3 separate regions of the Homo sapiens genome follow, and all the other regions are linked to region 3. The links are contacts of gene promoters, found by promoter capture Hi-C in blood cells and fetal thymus (Javierre and others, 2016). All regions are on one chromosome and are shown on one strand. Each heading gives the region's core, a stretch centred on a gene start or on the middle of the fragment in contact. The rest is flanking DNA. Distances are from core to core; before and after follow the strand shown. Region 1 has its middle 240 kb from the start of SORL1-AS1. Region 2 has its middle 300 kb from the start of SORL1-AS1. Region 3 holds the start of BLID (BH3-like motif containing, cell death inducer).

Region 1 (3,716 bases), core at 783-3,282, 420 kb after region 3:
AAGTCCTTTCTAACCTAAATGAGTTTGTGACTATGTGTGTTTATACGTGTGAGGATGAAACACACTGTGAACACCGTTTCTCCTAGTGTCTAAGCTGTTATCAGAGAATGAAGCACTTCAGGAGGCTAATTGAGCACTGGAGGCTGTCTATACTGGCAGAGCAGAGGGGAGAGGGAGAGTTGGAGCCCCCCCATACACACACACACACACACACACACACACACACTCAAGAAAAACTGCTCAATTCTCTAGGCAGGCCAATCTCATCTGATAGAATCAAATTAAACTTCATGTTGCCTCTACAGACAAAATACATTTGTTTTCAGATGCCCAGACAAGACTCAGCTTCCCTAGTCTGTGCAATGGTCCTCGCAGGACTTCTGAGTAAACCTCTCATTCTGCGCATTCAGCTCAGACTTAGCTGCCACGATGTTCCGGCATTGTCTTTCCGAGCCATACTCTTCCAGCCCCTGCCATTCTGTTATTTAACAGAGAGCACGCAAAAGAAAAAAAAATTAAGGTGAAAAAGAATCATACTAAAGGTCAATCCCATATTTTGTATAAAGATATTATTTTTTCGTTGTTTATTATTGTTGGCCTGTTTGGATTAATTATAGCACCGTTTTTGTAAGTGGCAGGGGCAATCTGTCACCCAGAATTACACAGCAGGCCACCCAAGCTCCACACTTCCTGTTATCCTGCTGTAAATCAGTGTCACTCGCTGGAGAGCATGCCACACGTACCCACGGCCGGGCTGGCCCCGTCACAATCAATGCAGTGCCCACCACTCCCCTCTTCTCATTCCCGAAAGGGTCCTGAAAGAGGATTTGTCGAGGAATGCCACAGCCTCACAGTGTGCTGACTTTATAAAGAGACGAGGTGAAGTAACACTTTTCTTTTTAATACCCCGTGGTGTCGAACTGAAATTGCAGCCTGCTATTTTCAGAGGCCTCCTTGGTAAGAGAATGTTTTTTATCTGGAGATACAATGACCGTACCCCGTACCCTGCAGTTCCCATGAAGCTGTTGCCAAAGTCCATGAATGCTTGCTTTATGAATTGGTCTTGCAGGTGTTCAGGGGGGTATGTAATCACTAATGAATAGTCGAAAAACACAGAAACTCTCCGCAGCCTCTGGCACCGAGAGCTGCTGGGCTTTATAATTCTGTGAGAAAACACACATGCAACTAAAGCTTTCCCTGGGCTCCAGCGTTGCCTGAGGCCAAATATTCGTCACAGCCCATCCCTAGGCTGGTGGTATGTTCCAGAAGGGATGAGAGCTGTAGTCGCCCTGTGGGCCGGGAAGTTTTTGGCACTTACACAATTTCCCTGCCCTGACGTGGTACATTATTTTAGCCAATGGTACCATCTTTATTTAAGGGCCATTTATGGAATATCCAGCAGGCCAGACCACCTGGATATTTTATGAAGACCTTATGGGCTTAGGCCCAGGTGGGCTGGATGCCCAGGGAAACAAGGCATTGGGAGGTCAAAACCAAATCACCTCAGATAATCTGCACCAATGCTTGGGCAGGAGGGACTAGAGCTATGGAGAGTCAAGAGTAAAGTATTGGCTGGGTGCAGTGGCTCACACCTGTAATCCCAGCACTTTAGGAGGCTGAAGCGGGCAGATCACAAGGTCAGGAGATCGAGACCATCCTGGCTAACACGGTGAAACCGTCTCTACTAAAAATACAAAAAAATTATCCAGGCATGGTAACAGGTGCCTGTAGTCCCAGCTACTAGGGAGGCTGAGGCAGAAGAATGGCATGAACCTGGGAGGCGGAGCTTGCAGAGCCAAGATCATGCCACTGCTCTCCACTGCTTTGGGTGACAGAGCGAGACTCTGTCTCAAAAAAAAAAAAAAAAAAAAAAAAAAGAATAAAGTATTTTTTTCAGCCAGGCATGGTGGCTCACGCCTGGAATCCCAGCACTTTAGGAGGCTGAGGCGGGTGGATCACCTGAGATCAGGAGTTCAAGACCAGCCTTGTCAACACGGTGAAACCCCGTCTCTACTAAAAATACAAAAATTAGCTATGCGCAGTGGCGGGCACCTGTAATCCCAGCTACTCGGGAGGCTGAGGCAGGAGAACTCCTTGAACCCAGGAGGCAGAGGTTGCAGTTAGCCGAGATCGCACCACTGCATTCCAGCCTGGATAACAGAGCGAGGCTCCATCTCAAAAAAAAAAAAAGAATAAAGTATTTTTCTCAAGCAGGCTAGATAAGGGGGCTGTGCATGGGAAAGAAAGGGTCTTGGTATTGGATGCCCACAGGGCAAGAGGCTTTAAATCTAAAGAGAATCTATCATGTCCCCTCCACCCAAGAAAAGTTACCGAGAATCAAGACTTGTAGGAAGAGGATTTTATTAGAGCTAATCGAGCTTGTCCTTCCCAGCCTCAGCCCGGCAGGGAAGCAAAGCTAAAACATTTTAGATGTGGAAGGCAATGCTTGTTATTTTTCTCACTTTCCCTACCTGCCCTCCCTCTCTTTCATGAGCCCTCTCTGAGCTGATAACTGGAAAAATGTAAGAGTGGTAACTGGATCAGCTCTCCAGCCCTTCGAAAGGCTGGAAAAATAAAAATAAAAACTTGTGAGAGATATCCAAATTCTCTGGTACTTTGAATGGGGGTAGTAAGATCTCTTTATCAATACAGGCTCCATCCCCACATTGAAAACACAACATCAGGGCACTGGGAAAATACAGAAGCCTAGTATTAGAAAAATAGAATATTGGACAGTAGCATGTGGCACCTTCCAGTATCCTCCATAGCTGGGAGCAGCCCAAATCTCTAGCAAACACCGAAAGCCCCTAGGCACTGATAAAAGAAAATGGGGGCTGGCCCCCGACAGGGCCATGTCCCTGAGAACAAGCTTTCAGGGCTCACAGCACCTGGGACACTGAGTCTCTTTCTTAGCCAGAGCCAGCAGTAGTGGTCCCAGAGCAAAGCTAGGACTGGAGTTCAGAAGCTGAACTGTCACAGCTACTTATAAACATTGAAAAATACTAACTTCTGCACTTTGGGGGTGAAAGAATTTTGAACTATGGGAGCTACAAAGATAGCAGACTCTTTCTCACAAAATACTTGCTTTCTCTGGGTTTTCATACCTCTCCTCATTCATGTTACACTAACATTTCCAATCATCTACACTGACACCGGAGATGCCAAAACTACCCTGATGGGTCAGTTACAGTTAGATGGGATGGGACGTCTTGGAATTAGTGATATTTCAGAAACACAATGAAAGTTCTAGCATGCTATAGGAGGATGACTATAGTTAATGATAATATTGGCCGGGCACGGTGGCTCACGCCTGTAATCCCAGCACTTTGGGAGGCTGAGGTGGGTGGATCATCTGAGGTCAGGAGTTCAAGACCAGCCTGGCCAACATGGTGAAACCCCATCTCTACTAAAAATACAAAAATTAGCAAAAAAAAAAAAATATATATATATATATTATACAGCTTCAAACAGCTAGGAGGAGGATTTTGAGTGTTCCCAACACAAAGAAATGATAAGTGTTTGAGAGATGACAGATGTACTAATTACCCTCAACTGATCACTACATATTATGTTCATTGAAACATCACTATGTACCTCATGAATATGCACAATTATTATGTGTCAATTTTTTTTTGAGACAGGGTCTCACTTTATCACTCAGGCTGGAGTGCAGTGGTGTGATCTCAGCTCACTGCAGCCTCAACCTCCTGGGCTCA
Region 2 (3,323 bases), core at 448-2,947, 360 kb after region 3:
TTCCTATCACTCACATTCCATCTATCCACGTTCATACATAAATCATGGAGGATACGCAGCTCCAGAGCCACCTTGCATCAAAATGGAGTCAGATTAAAGGGTTCACCAGGTAGCACTATATACCTCATTTATGTGCCCTTAAAAAACTTAGGGAGATTCATTCAAGTATGGTATGGCTTAAAATGACCAAGTAAAATCTGAACCACATGCTTTCATTTAAATACAGATGGTCAGGTTTTGTTTATGTATACAGAGCCAACTGCTTATACAAAGCAGTGCCCTATACATATAAACCAGCAAAGCCATTTTAGAACCCAGAGTTTGAAAGAGTCTATATAAATGTAAATTACCAACCAAAGGGAGCATAAAATCTATGGATGTGAAAACGAGGCTACTATCTTTCCTCATCCAGCTCCCATTGGCCAGCATGGGCTCACACAGTGTTCTTTCATTTGGGGAGTCTCTGGAGCATGGATTTAGCTGGGTTTCTGTGCCAGCGCTTCAGCTGGCAGTGATTGGGTGACCTGTGTTTCCTCGGTGGTTGTTTGTCATTGTCAGGGGGGCTTCCAGATTTTACAGAGTCACTGAGGTCTTCACACATCTGACTTGTCATCCCAGCACTATTTTGATCCCTTGGATTCTCCAGCAGGCATCTTCCAGGAAAATTCTGGGAGTGTCTTGGCCCAATATTTCAGTCTAATGGCTAGGAGTAAGCTAGCTTTATCCAAGGCCAGAGCTGAGCTCTAGTTGGGGATAAAATGCTACTGAAAGCTGTATTAACTCTTGTACGCCACTAATGTGTTTCATTTGGGACCCTGCAGTAGCCATTCACTAAATGGGATTCTGAGGCATGAAAAAAGCTAAAGTGAGCTGCTCCCAACTTGTCATTCTCAACAAGGGAGGATGTGGCTCACAATGGGGGAGGGGATTGGTTGAATAAGAGGGAATGTCTGCAGACTGCTTGGAGATCCACGCAGGAAGAACCCAGAGAAGAGCAATCTAGCTAAATGAAATTGTTTTCTTTCTTTCCAACCACGGTATATTAATTGGGCACAAATCGGTCCACTTAATGCCAATTGACATGAAGCAATTTCCCATTTGATGGCAATTGAAAACCCATGCTTGCTGCCCCAAACCTGCTTGATTGTTCCAAACAGATTTCCCATCCTAAAGTGGAAATGGATTTAATTTGATCTCTTCAGTCTGTTCGCCATTATGTGTGAAACAGTGGTATTAGTAGCCAGGAAATCAGCAGCTACCTGAGCAGTGGAGTGTTCAAAATGGAGGCATTCCAGCTGCTAGTGAAAATTCAAAGGAAAGAGTCATGCTATAGTTGTGATGGCTAGAGACCTGGGATAGCATAGCTGTTCTTTGTTGTTGTTGCAGCTGTCTCATTGTTTTGATTTGTCTTTTTCTTTTTTTTTTCTTTGCTGTTTCCTTAAGACTAGAGAAGCTTAAAGCTAAGGAGAGTCCTAGACAGCTACCTTGTCCAGTTGTCACTTCAATGAGGAAACCCAGGCCTAACGAAGTTTTGTGACCTGCCTCAATAATAATCTGCCCACTCTTTCTCACTCCTATGTCTTTTTTATTCTCATGCATTCCTTGCTCTCACTTCCAAGAATTCTAGCTCAGAGCTCTATCAGTGGAGAGGTAATGGAAAGAATATATGGTCTTATAACTGAAAGTCTTGAGTTCAAGGGATGTACCTGAGTCATGTGACTTCTCAGGGCTTTGGTTCCCTTATCAATGAAAAGGAAATACAGATCCATGCTTCCCAGTGTTTTTGCAACAATCGAATGAAATAACTTATGTAAAAGCAGTTTACAAATTACACAGGATCATGAGATGTAAAACATTATCCTACCAAAGCCCAAAGCCCCTCCTAGACAGGAGACAGGCCAAATGGGTCAAAGGTTGGAAGCCAGGCAAGAAACAAGCTTTGATCAAGTGACTGTAAGAATCACGAGAGTACCAGTAGTACTCTCCACTCATACCTCAAATCAGAGAAAGATTAGGGATTAAAAAGCTGAAAATATTTGCAGATGTTTGGCATGGCTGTGGTTAGCCTTTTGACTTTTGGAACAAATAACATCTAGTGATATTTGTTTCACTTGTTTTTCTTTTAACTAAGTTGTCAGCCTATTATTTGAAAACTTTTTCCATTCTAAAGCTCTATTTTGTACAGAGATATCTAATCACTTATCTGAACAAAGATGCAAACATGGCCATATGGCCTTTGCCCTGTCAGAGAAATCAGTGAAATCAGAAAAATCAGAGAGGCTTATCCTATATTCTACTGGTAATATACCCAAGTGTTTTATAAAAGTGTTTATAGAAATATGTGCCCTTGGTGTTTTCACAAGTACAAGCATAAATGAAACAAGATATAGGCAGATCATCATAGATGAAGCTCTGGGCTAGGAGACACAAAGTGTTGCTTCCTGGTAGCTGTGTGACCTAGGGCAAGTCACTTCACCTCTCTGAGCTTCTGAGAGATGAACAGGGGTACAAAATGGGGATATGACAATATCAACCCCAGGATTAAGCGAGATGACATCATCCAGGTCTCAGCTCAAATACCGCCTGTTCAGAGAGGCTATAGTGCATGCTGTGGTGGGTCACACAGATCCCCCCTATGAGGACTGAAGCATCATTTGCCTAGCTGCTGTGAGTGTTGGAAGCTGGATCCCCTTCATAGATTGCCCTAAGCTGCCCATCTCGCCCAAAATCTTCCCACCAAAGGCAGCACACATACAATAGTGGCAAATAAGAGGGTCTAAAGGCCAACTCCCCAGCCCCAACTCAAGATACACTGTAGGACTACCCCAGCTTCAAGGCTTTCTGTGGTGTTGGAGGCTGAGGTTTTGCTGTGACTATGTAATAGCCCAACTTCTGTTTCTGCCCAATCCTATTTCCTGTACATATGCTCCTAGACTTATAACAGGGTTACATCCTGATAAACTCATCACAAGTTGAAAATATCAAGTTAAAAATGCATTTAATACTCCTAACCTACCAAACATCATAGCTTAGCCCAGCCTACCTTAAACATGCTCAGAACGCTTACATTAGCCTATGGTCGGGCAAAAACATGTAACACAAAGCCTATTTTATAACAAGGTGTTGAATATCTCATGTAATTTATTGAATACTACACTGAAAGTGAGAAACAGAATGGTTGCATGTGCACTCGTAGTGCAGTTTCTACTGAATATATATCACTTTCACACCATCTTAAAGTCAAAAAATTGTTAAGTTTAGCCATCTTTTTTTTTTAATGGGTAATTTTCTTTTTTTTATTATTATTATACTTTAAGTTTTAG
Region 3 (3,358 bases), core at 55-2,554:
CTTGATGGAATTTCTTATACTACCTATAAATTTTGCTAGAGTAGAACATTCTGTGTTCCCCCTAATTGAATGTTACAGGCCCCTCTGTAAATTTAGGAAAGTTCCAAAGTGTTCCCTGGATACTTGTTCTGCCTCTAGCATGAAATGTACAAAAGTAGCAGAGAAGATCCAAACCAGACTTTGCTCTCAGAGTAGGCTGCATAACTCCCTCTTGTCTTCTCCACTGGTCTACATCAGTCTTTTGTCTACAACCCTGACTTTTTTAAAAATGGTATTGGATGCTACCATTATGGTTATGGTTAACTGGGGGCATCATTGGTGCCTGAGTTTCTACTCAAATAACATAAGGGAAATCAAGAGACCAAGGCCATGATGACTCAAGCAGTCTCCATGGCTTGGTGGTAAAGGAGTGAATCCTTCCTTACAGCTGATCTTGCCTTTGTATATGTCACATATTGGTCCTGATTAGAAAGGTCTATAGGCTAATTTGTGCAAGACACATTCCTTCTCATTATACCATGATACAGGCCATGTGAAACACCAGATTCAATCTTATAGCCTCTCTGCTGCTGCTAAGTAAGAAACTTCTACTTTTAGTGTCTTTTCTCTCTCAACACAAAAATACTCTGTAAGTCACCCAGATCTGGGTTGCCCATGATTACCAGGCTTTTCCCAATTAGAAATATGACTCATGTTCCATTTTACCAATACATCTCAGGCACAGAACTAGCAAGGAAAGACAAAATTAAAATGTTTCTGTAATTCCAGCCCATCAATTGAAACAAGATGTTTCTGAACTTTTCCCAATGTGAAGAACAAAAAGTAATAGCATTTTGTTTATTTATTTGTGTACAACACTGTGGTCAGGAACTTGTTGCTTCCCCAGGGAAATTGCTTGCAAGCATCACTGAGAAGAGGACTTAACAATTCACACTGATCATTCCCTGTGGTCTGCCATGGCGAGGGTGATACTTTCATGTTTTATAAGCACCAGACAAGAGAGCTGGATCAATTTTCTCTCTCGATATTCTAGTCTCTGTTGAAACGACTCCCTCAGACATCAGCAGCTCCGGGTTCTTTCTAAAAAATAAAGTAAGTACTCTTAGGTCTGTTCACAGTAAGGGACAAGAAGTCCAAAACATATCCCTGCCTTTTACAATTCAGAAATCAACGTGGAGATCTTTCCTACTTTTAGGCAGTACATACAGCTTCGCTGAGGTCTGTGTGTCAAACTTACTGAGAGGAGGACATCGTGGAGACTTATCGTTAATTAGCAATGCTTATGCATGCAAACCTTGGTCAGATGATGTTGTGTTTGGAGAAAAGAGAGAAGAGAATTGAATAAGTACATGACCCCTTGGAAGCTGTTTTCAGTTGAGGATTTTGGTGAGTAGCCACTTGAAATCAAGGGAAATTCCATGAATAGCAGGAGCTGGGAAGAAAGGAAGAGGAGGAAGGATCCCACCACTTTTTTCTTCCCATCTAACACCGTGCTTATGCAAAGCATAGTCCATATGAGATCTGCCTTATAAAAACTTGCTGAATAAAGCGAATGGAAGTTAAATTTTGGACTTTCTTCCATAATAGCTTCAAATTATGGTGACTTTGTTGCCTATAGAGGGCCAGGAAATACATTTCTTTGAGATCCTAGAATCTGAGTGTGTGCTCTACACAGGATGGATAGAGCGAGCCTCTGGCAGTTCCATTTATCCAGAGGCAAAAGCACGCCTGCCACTGGAGGCGCTCTTGGGTTCCAACAAAGAACCTATGTTGCCTAAGGAAACAGTGCTTTCTCTTAAAAGGTACAATCTTGGCTCCTCTGCCATGAAGCGGAATGTTCCTGGACATGTGCTTCAGAGACCTTCCTATTTAACCAGGATACAAGTTACATTGTTATGCAATTCCTCTGCTGAGGCCCTGTAAAAGGAGTGAGTTAGGACAGATGCAGCAAGATATTAGGACAGATTTCGCCCATTATTCAGGCTGCACAACACAGAAGGAAACTTGATTTCAATAAGACCCAATTCTTAACAGTCTTTTCTACCCACTTTTACCCATAACTTTTCCAAATTTGGTTCAAATTGTGCAGAGAAACAATAAAATTTTTAAAAAGGATAAACTGGCTAGTTAAAAGTAAATGGCATTTAATTAAAACAAATCTTGCAAATTCATGAAAAAACAAAAAGCTATGTGATGGTAAACCTTAGGGCAGCGTACAGTGCCACTGTCCTTTGCAGTTTTGAGTGTATTTCATTTGTACATTGGAAGTAGGTACTTGTCATATTATTAACAATTACTCTACTTAGTTGTACACTCAGCATTTGGCATCAGAATAATCTTGTGTAGTCACAGGGTTTTCATTTTCTTTCTGTATTTTTTAAGCATGTTTCTGAGTGGTGGTTCACATAAGCTTTCAATTTTAAATAACACAATCCATTTATTTCACTAGGCGTCTTTATTTGCTTAAAGTGAAGAATCAGAGATTGTCATTGTGTTGTAAATAAGTCTAACCTTTCTTTCCCTTTACAAAAAAAAAAACCTGTGGAACTGAAAGAAATAGAAATTCCAGTAATCTTTTATGAACTCTGTTATTAGAGTGAGTAGAACTAAATCTGTGGGGAAAAAAGGAAAAGGAAATGGAAAAGGTGTTTCAGAGCTTTTACTTTAAGCTATTCTAGTGTCCCCTTCTCTGCTTTCTTTCCACTACCCTGACCCATACCTACCCACAGTGAGAACTGAGCCCGCAGGGCAGCTCAGAAGCTGGGAGGAGAGAAAGAGTGAGAATCTGAGTTATTTTTCCTCAGTGATCTTAAAAGCTCCAGGCAGAAAAGACCCTGCCTATAGAACCTCCCTTTTGCATTTCTCAATTGCATCGGAGAAACTCCTAAATTGCATCAGTGATCCTGAAGCTGTTAAAGTAAAGAATTTTCTGTAGAAGAAAGAAAAGAGAAAGAGAAAGAAAAGGCAAAAACTTAATCATGCCTGGGATCTTTTGAGGTAGAAAAAACTGACAAGAAACAAACTTTCCTTATATTCTAGTGTGTTGGAAAACAGTGGAAGGACTGTTTGCCAAATTGTCTTAGCGGTTCTCAAAGATGGCTGGCCAAATCATAAGAGAATACGCTTAGGTTCGTGTAGTTCTGAGTCCAGCATTGTGGGTGAAGCACAGGTTTCAGCGTAAAGAAATCTGCTGTCTAGAAACCATGGGAAGTATGTCATCCTCTCTTTTCTTTACCATATAGAGATCCTTCATGGATATGCTGTTGTTTGAAGAAAATTTTGTTTAGGAAGTAAGAAAAATATAATTAACATTGCCCTAAAGAAGCAAAGCTCTTTATTTTCATTTTCACTTCCTTTT

What was found. The method cuts DNA at HindIII sites, captures the fragments that hold promoters and counts their contacts. A CHiCAGO score of 5 or more calls a contact.
Region 1: a fragment that was not itself captured here is called in contact with the fragment with the promoter of BLID in region 3 in 3 of 17 cell types (M0 macrophages, monocytes and M2 macrophages); the score reaches 7.0 in M0 macrophages.
Region 2: a contact is called between a fragment that was not itself captured here and the fragment with the promoter of BLID in region 3, in 2 of 17 cell types (M1 macrophages and monocytes). The highest score is 5.8, in M1 macrophages.

Annotation. Positions count from the first base shown.
Region 1 is chr11:121,693,805-121,697,520 of GRCh38, reverse strand. No RefSeq gene overlaps it. Among named protein-coding and RNA genes, the nearest start is that of SORL1-AS1, 240 kb to the right of the region's middle. The HindIII fragment of the contact is 1,678 bases long and covers 1,194-2,871 here.
Region 2 is chr11:121,753,436-121,756,758 of GRCh38, reverse strand. No RefSeq gene overlaps it. Among named protein-coding and RNA genes, the nearest start is that of SORL1-AS1, 300 kb to the right of the region's middle. The HindIII fragment of the contact is 484 bases long and covers 1,456-1,939 here.
Region 3 is chr11:122,114,161-122,117,518 of GRCh38, reverse strand. It overlaps BLID (BH3-like motif containing, cell death inducer), which reads left to right and starts at 1,304. Exons shown (of 1, transcript NM_001001786.3): 1 at 1,304-2,179. The coding sequence starts at 1,597. The coding sequence ends at 1,923. The region is part of intron 4 of MIR100HG (mir-100-let-7a-2-mir-125b-1 cluster host gene); the gene reads left to right. The HindIII fragment of the contact is 7,623 bases long and covers 1-2,412 here.